Regions from separate parts of the Homo sapiens genome. Here region 1 is linked to region 2. The links are contacts of gene promoters, found by promoter capture Hi-C in blood cells and fetal thymus (Javierre and others, 2016). All regions are on one chromosome and are shown on one strand. Each heading gives the region's core, a stretch centred on a gene start or on the middle of the fragment in contact. The rest is flanking DNA. Distances are from core to core; before and after follow the strand shown.

Region 1 (7,401 bases), core at 4,535-7,034, 540 kb after region 2:
TCAGCTCACTGAAACCTCCACCTTCCGGGTTCAAGAGATTCTCCTGCCTCAGCCTCCCGCTTAGCTGGGACTACAGGTGCCCGCCACCATGCCCAGCTAATTTTTGTATTTTTAGTAGAAACAGGGTTTTACCACGTTGGCCAGGATGGTCTTGATCTCTTGACCTCGTGGTCCGCCCGCCTTGGCCTCCCAAAGTGCTGGGATTACAGGTGTGTGCCACTGCGCCCGGCCAGGAGCCTCTTCATTAACATCAGTTGATGTTTGTACTCAGGGTTCCATGGCCGCCTTTTTAAGAAAATGTTTACTCTGCAAGTCCTAGAGTTTAGAACCTTCAGCACTTAGAGACTAGTTTTCAAAAGTGGCTCTCATGTAAAGAACCTTTTGTTCATCCCTGCATATAACATAGAAGTGGCCTTAGGCTGTGTGCTAGCCTCACTGCCTTTCCTCCTGTTGACACTTAAAAAAAAAAAAGATTTATCCTCTTCATGATGATTTATGGTTATTTTGCTTTTTAAATTCCATTCTAGGGATGACAAAAGTGAAAGTTGGGAAGGAAGATTCTTCTTCTGCAGAATTTCTTGAAAAACGGAGGGCCGCTTTAGAAAGGTAAGTGCCATGCAGCCATTTTCCTGAATAATGTGAGGACAAATGAAAAGCTGAAAAGTGAGTCTAAATGACGAGACAGTCCATTGAGTTAGAGATGAAACGTGAATAAATTGAAGTTGCACACCTCCATATTATCTCTTAACTTTTCCTGAGTCGCTTATTTTCCCACCTTGAGAATAGACCATCTTCTGTTTTTTCCCCATCCTGAGTGAGCAGGCAGTCATATTCTTAGACAATCAATCAAATATGAATGGCTCTGAGGTTTCTTTCTGACCAGTTATTTTTCCCTCCCTTTTTGGAAATGTCAGGAATGTGAACTTGAATATGCTTACAAGGAGAGACCTACTTAAGTACCTTATCTTAGGGTACTTTAAGTACAAAAAGTACAGAAGACATGGTATCACTGCCAGCACTGTGTGACGCCCAGAACCTTCTGAGGCCAGCTCAACTAACCAGATGATAACTGCTTACCTTTTAGGTACCTTCAGAGGATTGTAAATCATCCTACCATGTTACAGGACCCTGACGTCAGAGAGTTCTTGGAAAAAGAAGAGGTTAGTATTCAGTGCAAACTGAATTTCATAATTTATATCTGCCCCTAGTGAAACGAAACTAGTTCATTCCAAAAATATGTGAGCACTTAACATGCCTAGTACTAGACTGTATCCTAGTTTTGTGTGAACCCCTGAGAGTGACAAGTATTTTTCAGCCTTTGAAATAAAAGAAGCTCTGCCCGAAGTCAAAAGCAGTTGGTTGTAAGGGTCAAATAGCAGCCTAGTATTGTCTTACTGGATCAACACAGTGATCTATTTGGCAGGTCCTTGGCATGTTGTAGGTTACTTCTTGGCTCAGATTGAATGTATATTTTATGCCAGGCGGGTCACTGGTTAACAGTTACCACAAACCACAGAACTACCATGTAGGAAAAGTGTTGATTGAAGTAGACAGTCTCTTTCACAGGCTATGCGTAGGCTAGTCATGATTGTCAAAAACTGAAAACAGCCCAATTGCTAACAGTGGAAGAATTAAGTAAAATATATCAATATAACCAAATACTTGATTCTCATCATAAACAAAGTATACAGAAATGTTAGTACATGGACATGTATGTTAAAAGAATTACAAAATTTGAAACATGAAATAGCATATAAATACAGCTGTAGAAACATGTAAGTCATTAAGGATCAAAAGAAACACTGGAGTGAAATGTTTTATCTCACAGGAAAGCAAACTAGAAGGAAGTAAGTGACTGGGTAGGGCTATCATTTTGCTTTAATTTTTATTTTTAAATTTTTCTTTCATTTGTATGTAGTATGTGTTACTCCAGTGAAGAAAATGATACTAAATAAATGAGGGGGTTTTCTCCTCTAAAATGAAATGTTTTCATTAAAAATTCCCTGTCAAATGCTTCAAATCTTTTAGTCTTTTCTTGTGGATATTCTTAAATCCCTTCTGCCTTTTCACCCTCTCGTCTTTACTCCATACCCCTAAGCAGGGTATGTCTGTAGCAGCACTGTGGACACTTTGGGTCAGATAGTTCTTTGTTGTAGGGGTTGTCCTATGCATTGTAGAGGGTTTTAGCAGCATTCCTGGTACCTACCCACTAGATCCAGGTAGCACCCCCTCCCCAGTTATAACAACCACAATCATCTCCAGACATTGCCAAATGTCCCCTAGGAAGCAAAGTGGCCCCAAGTTTAGAACTACTGCCAGGCCAGGCGCGGTGGCTCTTGGCTGTAATTCCAGCACTTTGGGAGGCTGAGGCAGGAGGATCACCTGAGGTCAGGAGTTCGAGACCAGCCTGGCCAACATGGCAAAATCCTGTCTCTACTAAAAATACAAAAATTAGCGGGTCGTGGTGGCGGGCACCTATAATCCCAGCTACTTGGGAGGCTGAGGCAGGATAATCACTTGAACCCTGGAGGCAGAGGTTGCCGTGAGCTGAGATCGTGCCACTGCACTCCAGCCTGGGCGACAAGAGCAAGACTCCGTCTCAAAAAAAAAAAAAAGAACTACTGCCATAGAGTCCTGAACACTAAAATCTGACTTTTTAGCATAGTGTGCTGTATATGCTATAGATTTTTCAGCGTCCTTTCCATGCCCTAGGAGAGTACTGGGGAGACTGAACAGCAATCAGATTGTTTCTGAATATTTGGCATGCTTGACTACTAGGTTATCCCTGAAAGTAGCCTTGATCTGAATCAATAATTTTCTTGTCCTCGGATATTTGTTCACTGAAGAAAATTCGAACACAGCACGATTTCAGTGTCTTAAGACTTTTAAGTCTGGTTTTGTACAAAGTGTGCTAATCCAAGGGAACTTTTGACTTTTAACAAGAGTATGCTTGGTACTTAAGCAGTTCATGCCTGGGTAGGCAGACAATCTCAATTTGAGGTCACCTGGCCACGTAACACCCCAGTCTACTTTTTTTCTGTATAAAATATCAAAAGCTGAAAATGTTGCTGATTCTTTTTAACATGGTTCTTTGATTTTTCTGTATGGACATGTTAGTTGTGGATTCCTCAGACTGCCTTTGAAAACAATTTACAGTTCAAATAATTTGTCTGGCAAGTTTTGGCATGCCATCTGATGGATACTAATTCTTCTGAACCTAAAATAGGGGCAGCAGATAACTTGCCATCCCTGCCTTCTTGGTCTTGTAGCTGCCACGTGCCGTGGGTACCCAGACATTGAGTGGTGCTGGTCTCCTCAAGATGTTCAACAAAGCCACAGATGCCGTCAGCAAAATGACCATCAAGATGAATGAATCAGACATTGTGAGTAGCCCTGTGCCTCTTACCTCCACCTACACCTCAGGCTTATGGGTCAGAACCCCTAAGGAGTCCTGAAATTTCTGAGATTAGAAACTTTTTTATAAGATTTTTCAGTCCCTTTTTGAGAAACAACTGCTAAAGAAAGACTGTACTGCACCCATAAAAGTAATCTCATTAAAGTTCTGGGCTTTTGTGTTTCAGTGGTTTGAGGAGAAGCTCCAGGAGGTAGAGTGTGAGGAGCAGCGCTTACGGAAACTGCATGCTGTTGTAGAAACTCTAGTCAACCATAGGAAAGGTAACAAGCTCTGAAATGCACTTGGAGCTAGGGGAAATTGTTGTCTCTAGTGAACTGGAGATGCGAGGGCATGCTGTTCCAATCCTCTCAGCCATCCAAGTTGAAATTCTCAGCCCACCTGGTCCTTGATGTTCTGATAAAAAAAAGGTATGCCCTGTGTCTCCTGGCAGAAAACATGATTCAACCACTGTGGGCATTGTGCTTTCTACCTGGGAGGGGTGCAGGGAAGCCATCCCAGATACAGCATGACCTGGGATATGGGCTTCTGTTGATTTTGACTTGATGGCTTACATCCAAAATGATGTCATACATGCTTGAGCTACATGGTCAAACCAGCAATGCGTAAATGCAAGGAAACCACCTGTCTCCTAATCCTTCTGCATCTCTCTTTAGTGAAATTTGCTTAAGAGCTTGTGAAATTTTCCCAGTTTGAATCTTTTCCCTCTTTGCCTTAAACATGCTGATAATTAGAAATTGAAACAGACAGAAGACCCATAGCATGAGGCCAGGGTAAGTAAGGGTTGGCAAAGTATAATCTGGCCCATGGGCCAAATCTGACCCTGGTTCCTATTGCCATGAGCTACAAATTTAGGTTTTTACATTTTTAAAGGAATGAATGAGGGGAGAAAAGAATCTGTAGCAGACTATGTGTAGCCTTCAAAATCTAAAAAATTTATTATTAGCCGGTCGCGGTGGCTCACGCCTGTAATCCCAGCAATTTGGGAGGCCGAGGCAGGTGGGTCACGAGGTCAGGAGTTCAAGGCCAGCCTGGCCAAGATGGTGAAACCCTGTCTCTGCTAAAAATAGAAAAAATTAGCCAGGTGTGGTGGTGGGCATCTGTAATCCCATCTGCTTGGGAGGCTGAGGCAGAGAATTGCTTGAACCCGGGAGGCGGAGGTTACAGTGAGCTGAGATGGCGCCACTGCACTCCTTTACACAAAGTTTGCCCTACTCTAGAACGTGCAAGACTATACGATGTGCACATGTATTCACTCTTCTCTCTTGTACAGAGAGGCTACCACTCATGAGCTTCAACATAAATATAAGAATAGTTTCTTTGGCCTGTTTGTTATTTAACAACTGGGCTTTGGTTCTCCAGGGATATTGGAGCTGCTTCCTTCAGGTAGGCCTAACCCAGTGAAACTCAGGACAGCTGGTGCCTCTCCCTCCTGCTCCTGTGACCAGGCCACATTCTCTTTACTCTCTGAATACAGTTAACTGTGGTGTAAGTGACTGGGTTGCAGAGCCCTCAGTTCCCAGATATGCAGTGGGCGGCATTGCTAAGACATGCCATGCAGTGTCAGCTGATTTGTCCCTTTTCCTTGTGAGATCAGAGAGGCCTCTGCTGTCTTTTCCTCCTTCCAGAGCTAGCGCTGAACACAGCCCAGTTTGCAAAGAGTCTAGCCATGCTTGGGAGCTCTGAGGACAACACGGCATTGTCACGGGCACTCTCCCAGCTGGCTGAGGTGGAAGAAAAAATTGAGCAGCTCCACCAGGAACAGGCCAACAATGACTTCTTCCTCCTTGCTGAGCTCCTGAGTGACTACATTCGCCTCCTGGCCATAGTCCGCGTAAGCTTCTGTTTCCTTTTCTCCTCCTTCCCTTGATTTGATTTGTTTTTCCTTTGCTGGTCCCCTTCCCAAGACAGTTTCATCCCATTATAGCTTGTAAATAGGTGTCACTTTTTCTACTTTTAAGAGGAAAGGTATCCTGTAAACCAAGCAATCTATTCACCTGTTAGCTAGTTATCACTGAATCATTTTGAGCCCCACAGCCAAGATTCCTAGATGGCATTTGGAGAAAAGACCACTCTTGAATTTCCGAATAGGTTGCCCTTTATTGTTGAGGCCAGACAGTGTCTTCTGTGGTCCTTTCTTGAAGCAAGGTTGCTTACAGACCTACTCTCTTGGTCCCCTGGAGCAGTGACTTCCTCAGTCCTTTGGTCTTTGCCTCCTTAACAGTAACTGGTGGCTTTGCCCTGGTTAAGAGCTCTTGCTGACTTCCACTTGTCCTTCCAGTATGGGCAGTCAGGTAACTACATGGAACTGGCTTGGCATTGCATGGAGGAGTGCGGCCAGGGGACTGAGAGAGCTTGTCACCAGAGCCTTCCTGTGCTGTGTCACCCCACACTGGTAACATTCCAGCCTGCCCCTCGTCAAGCACCTCACTCTTTCTCCTGGTGATCAAGCAGTGTGGTTTCCCCGTGAGCACTCCTAGTGATTAAGGTTAAGGAATTTTGACAGTAGTATTAGCTGTCGCATGGCCTCCCTAAGACAGAGGAAAGAACCAAGAGGAAGCCTGGCACCTACACTCTAAGGGCCTAAGTCTGTCCTTGATTTCGCTTGGGATCAGGATGTGTGAGCCTCAGAGTTAGAACAGTGCCCCCCGCTCGTTCCCCGTCCCCAACATATCTCCCATTAGGGAGCTTGTGCGTTGTGTCAGGAGCTGAGCTGCTCCCAGGCTGTCACTTACCCCGTGGTGGAGATGCCTCATAGAGCCTGGAAGGTTGCTCATTGTCCTCTCCCATTGCTATTTGGTTTGCTGCTAACTCCAGAGTGATGAGTCTACCTGCTATGTAATTCTTAGAACTGGGCAGGCTACTTAGACTGGAGAGCCAGCTGCAGGAAGGGCACCCTCTGGGGGAAGCTTTCTATGAGGAGCATTGTTTGGGGTCTCTGGAGAGCACAGTTCTTGGATATGGCCCCCAGGCAGAGTGAGCTTGTACCACAGGGGTGAGGGCCTTGCTTAGAGCTACATGGGCTGGGGCTGGGGAAGTGTGCCTCATGGCACATAATTGCGAATGGTCTTTTCTCAGAGACCCTTCATCTGCCTACCTCATGCTTATGAGCCTGGTGGTGGGATTGGAGAGAAGAGCAAAGGTTTCTTTTCTGCTCTTCCCTGAGCATGGAGCCGGACCACTGTTAGGCCAGTGGGTTGGGCTTGAGTCTAACTAACTCAGATAAGAGGTTGCCCTTTACCTAATCTTTTGACATTGAGGTGTTAAGATGCTGCAGGGTAGCAGCAGTGACAATCCTGGGGCAGGTGAATTTGGTGGCATTGCATTCCCTAAGGTTCAAGTTTTGGCAAAAGCCTGTGCTGAGGAGGCATAGACAATATGCAGGGAAGGTTGGGGCGTGGTGGCTCACGCCTGTAATCCCAGCACTTTGGGAGGCTGAGGCAGATGGATCACCTGAGGTCAGGAGTTCGAGACCAGCCTGGCCAGTGTGGCGAAACCCCATCTCTACTAAAAATACAAAAATTATCTGGGCGTGGTGGTGTGTGCCTATAATCCCAGCTACTCAGGAGGCTGAGGCAGGAGAATCGCTTGAAACCAGGAGGTGGAGGTTGCAGTGCAGTGAGCCAAGATCGCGCCATTGCACTCCAGCCTGAGTGACAAGAGTGAAACTCCGTCTAAAAAGAAAATATTCGGGGAACTTTTGCAGGGCAGTGAGGGAGCCGCTGGAACCCGGCTGGGCGGCTGGCCCCAGGCACAGATCCTTGATCCAGGCTGCTGCTTGGGGCCTATTAAGCAAGTCCGGGTGGGCGTGGTTAGTCAGGCCAGCAGCTTCCTTCCCTGGAAATGCTGATTGTGGTCAAGGAACTGGAAACAAGGAAAACTAGCAAATAGATTTTGGGGAGCTTCTTGGAGGCCTTGGTAGCCTAGAGCAGGTGAGTGTGTGGTTGGGAAAAAGCAATGTGGCCCTATGGTGGTTTTAGGTGTTGATT
Region 2 (3,716 bases), core at 909-3,408:
GTGGTTGCTGTCACTGCTGCCAAACAGCATAGCTCTGGACAAGCCCAAAGGGGCAGAGCTTCGTCATCTCCTGGCTGTGCCTCAGACCCTCTGCAGCATGCAGGAGCACATTCCCCCTGGCCCTGGTAGTCTAGGATGCTTCCTGCAGCCTACCTGGAGGAACAGCAGAGGGGCAATGCTCTAAATGTTCTCCCTGCCAATCTTTTGCCATTCCAGCTGGGCTGCAGTAGTGCAACTTGGAAGCCATGCTGAAGCACAGTGACACTTACTCAGTGGAAGGCACAAGTACCACTCTGGCCTTGCAAGAAGTGGAAAGAACCACCTATTCCTAAGGGTCAAACCCTCTGAAAAGCATTGGTTTGAGGAGGATTGGGGAGGGAAAGTGGAGATAATGTGGCTTTCTAATAACACCACCTGTGGTTTTGCAGCATCCATTTTAAGTGGAGAAGTACACCTAGACAGAGCCTAAATTAGGGTGTCAGCTATAATTCAGAACTACATTGATGAGCTTGAAATAGCAGCAGTATCTTGCTCCCCTTCCTTGGGAAATGCTTCCTTTCGACCTCCTTGGTTTGTTTTTAAGAGAACCCCCTACTGTACTTCATCTTGGCATGGTGGAGTAATGGAGGCACAGGGGCACCAGCTGAGGCTGGCTTCTCAGGAAAGCCACTGACAATGGCTACTTCCTTCTTTGCTTGACTGCCTTCTGCTTTAAAGGCAAAGCTGCACCAGCCCTGACCAAACCTTAGTTCCAGAAGTGGGTTCAGCATAGGCTGCTTCATTTGTGTCTATGGGAAAACACAAGGATTCCCATTCCCTCTTATTCCAAATGGGAGAACAAACAGAAGTAACCACTGAGGTGGTGGTCCCTGGGCTGGCAGAGGAAAAACCATTCTCTTCTCACTATTGCCTAGGCAGAACGTGGCCTATACAGCTGCACCATATCAGCATCCCCCAAGCAAACCAAAAAACAACGACTGGGATTCAAAGCAGGAGAGTTAAGGTTGGGTCCTGGGTTTGGGAGTGAAGCAGCATGAGGAAACGGGTCTGCCATATCGTGAAGCCTCGGGTACTCAGGAAGGGGGAGCTTCACGGATAGTACCTCCAGGCACCTTGCCTAGAGTTGAGTCAGAGAGGGCAGGGGTGGCCCACTGGCTTCTCCAAGAGGGAACGGAGGGCACTCATAGAATGGATGGTGTGTGGTCAACTTAAAGGCAAAGATGGACTAAAATACTGAACTTAAAATTGTTTCAAGCAGTTTCACATTAAGAGCTACCTCATCCATCCTGACATTTTGGGAAGTACAGGTTATACATAGTACAAGGCCTTATCAGTGAGAAAATGTAAAGCCAAGTAAATTTAAATTTAAAACACAGAAAGTACTGCTTGACCAAAACTACAAAAACAACAACAACAACAACAAAGCACCAATAAAACATAAAACACAGACACACAACTTTGGAAAGCAGCTACTTCAGTAAAATTCTTTTATGAAACAACTCAGGGTAAAAATCTAGCTGTTGGGGAGGCCCAGGAAAATCCCCCTGCCTAGTGGCAGGCAGCAGGGCTTGAAGGCCAACCAGCCTAGCCTGGAGACAATTACTCTATGGCACAAAAATAACAGGAATGAGGCAGCAGCCATGGACTCTGCTCACAACTCACAACCGTCACCCTTAGCTCTCCACACGCAACAGGTTTCTTCCTAGTAAGGGTGGAGCAAAAGATTCACACTGATGTACTAGAAAATCAAAACAGTTAACATTTACAATTACACTCCTTCCCCCTAAGTACAGACTGCAAAGCCAGACAGAGCTGGCCTGGCCGCCACCACTGCCAATGAAAACGCCTTGGGAAAAGCCAAAAGTGCTCACTGCTAAACACCATTGTCAGCTAAAGGGAAAAAAAAAATCCCTTTTAAGGAAAGTAACTTCAATAGGCTCCTTTTCTGCCAGGACCTCCAATCCCTCTGAACATAAGCCGAACCACAGACTGCCGCACATGTGTCTGGGTCCTGGCTTTTCTTCCCTCACCCCTCCGCAGAGCTTCAGCACCAGTTGTTAGCCAAAAATAAACACCATTCCTCAACCATATATGTCCACCGGCCCAGAGTCGGGGAGGAGGAGAGGAGGCAGGTCAGCCGTCCCCCGGCTGCAGCTGCACTCACATGTGGCCACTGCTCACCATGCACATAACCCAGCTCAACCGGGAGTGCCTGCTGCACCTCTTCTCCTTCCTAGACAAGGACAGCAGGAAGAGCCTTGCCAGGACCTGCTCCCAGCTCCACGACGTGTTTGAGGACCCCGCACTCTGGTCCCTGCTGCACTTCCGTTCCCTCACTGAACTCCAGAAGGACAACTTCCTCCTGGGCCCGGCACTCCGCAGCCTCTCCATCTGCTGGCACTCCAGCCGCGTGCAGGTGTGCAGCATTGAGGACTGGCTCAAGAGTGCCTTCCAGAGAAGCATCTGCAGCCGGCACGAGAGCCTGGTCAATGATTTCCTCCTCCGGGTGTGCGACAGGTAGGCCACCTTGCCTCCTGAGCAGTGCTGGCCCCGCTAGCTCTGGCTTCCCTCTTGGGGGGCAGGGAAGAGCAAATTACGAGACCAAGATGGCTCCACCTTCGGGGCGCCTCAAACTAGGCCCAAGGCAGACATCCAGACCGCCCAAAGCAGGGTCCCCAGGAGACAATAAAATCATGAGGGAAACAATTGCTAATCCTCCTCTTAGCCTCACAGGTCCTGGGCTGCTTCATGCAAACACCAAGAAGTGGGGCCTCCGTACTGGTAGTCATTAAGTGCTGGGTGGGTCCAGCTGGGCCTGGATTTTCAAGGTCAGGCTCTGGGAAAAGGCTTCCAGATGCAGCAATCAGCTCACCCCTCCATTAGGCCTAGCAAGCAGCCCTCAAGGCCTGGGAAACTACGGAGGAAAGAGAGGGTGGGGAGCCAGAGGTGGAGAAGCCAGGGTGCTCAGGTCAGCTGAGCCAAACCAGACTCCAGGAGTAGATGAATTACTGATTTACACAGTATTCCTAAGGAGGGTGGCTTAGCCTAATTTTTCAAATTAGCAAACTGATGCTCCACGAGGTGGTATGATTTGCCCAGTCTAGGGTTGCCAGATTTTAGCAAATATATAGGCTGCCCAGTTAAATATGAATTTCAGATAAACAGTGAATAATATTTTAGTGTAAGTATGTCCCAAATACATCTTGTGTTTATCTGCTAACCCCCACCCCAGACACAGACATAGACACTGAACCACCAGGCCAGGCTCCCTCCATGGTCCCAGCCTCATGGGCAGAGCGGCCCAGGCAAGAACACAGAGCTATTCAACCAGCCTCTCACTGAGCTTCTGCCAGTCCCGTGCTGCCTTTGAGGAAAAACACCCCCTTGATCATATAACAAACTGGCCCTGGCTGTTCATGGAAAACTAGACTCAGCCAGTTTACTGCCACCCAAGTTCATAGCTGCTATTTGCTGGCAGCACGACAGGAGTGGAAGGAAACAGCGTAGTGACCCCACCTTTCTTTTGAGCTGGTAGGAAGAAAACAGAAGATGGACTTGGGGTTGGGCCCCGACTGGACAAGGCTATTTTGATGGGCTTAACAAGGCCCAGGAATTAGACTAGAGTGACATGGGTGGGGGTTGGGGGGAGGCGAATGGCACAACATGTCCTGAAGTTGTTCCATTCTTACTGTAAGAGAACCGAGCTTAATGCCCCA

What was found. The method cuts DNA at HindIII sites, captures the fragments that hold promoters and counts their contacts. A CHiCAGO score of 5 or more calls a contact.
Region 1: a contact is called between a fragment that was not itself captured here and the fragment with the promoter of FBXL22 in region 2, in 2 of 17 cell types (fetal thymus and naive B cells). The highest score is 5.2, in fetal thymus.

What each region holds. Positions count from the first base shown.
Region 1 is chr15:64,126,647-64,134,047 of GRCh38, forward strand. SNX1 (sorting nexin 1) reads left to right here. Exons shown (of 15, transcript NM_003099.5): 7 at 528-606; 8 at 1,085-1,160; 9 at 3,270-3,383; 10 at 3,582-3,675; 11 at 5,041-5,246. Among named protein-coding and RNA genes, the nearest start is that of SNX22, 21 kb to the right of the region's middle. The HindIII fragment of the contact is 1,070 bases long and covers 5,250-6,319 here.
Region 2 is chr15:63,595,229-63,598,944 of GRCh38, forward strand. FBXL22 (F-box and leucine rich repeat protein 22) reads left to right here and starts at 2,159. Exons shown (of 2, transcript NM_001367807.1): 1 at 2,159-2,517. The coding sequence starts at 2,165. The region is part of intron 1 of USP3-AS1 (USP3 antisense RNA 1); the gene reads right to left. The HindIII fragment of the contact is 9,685 bases long and covers 1-3,716 here.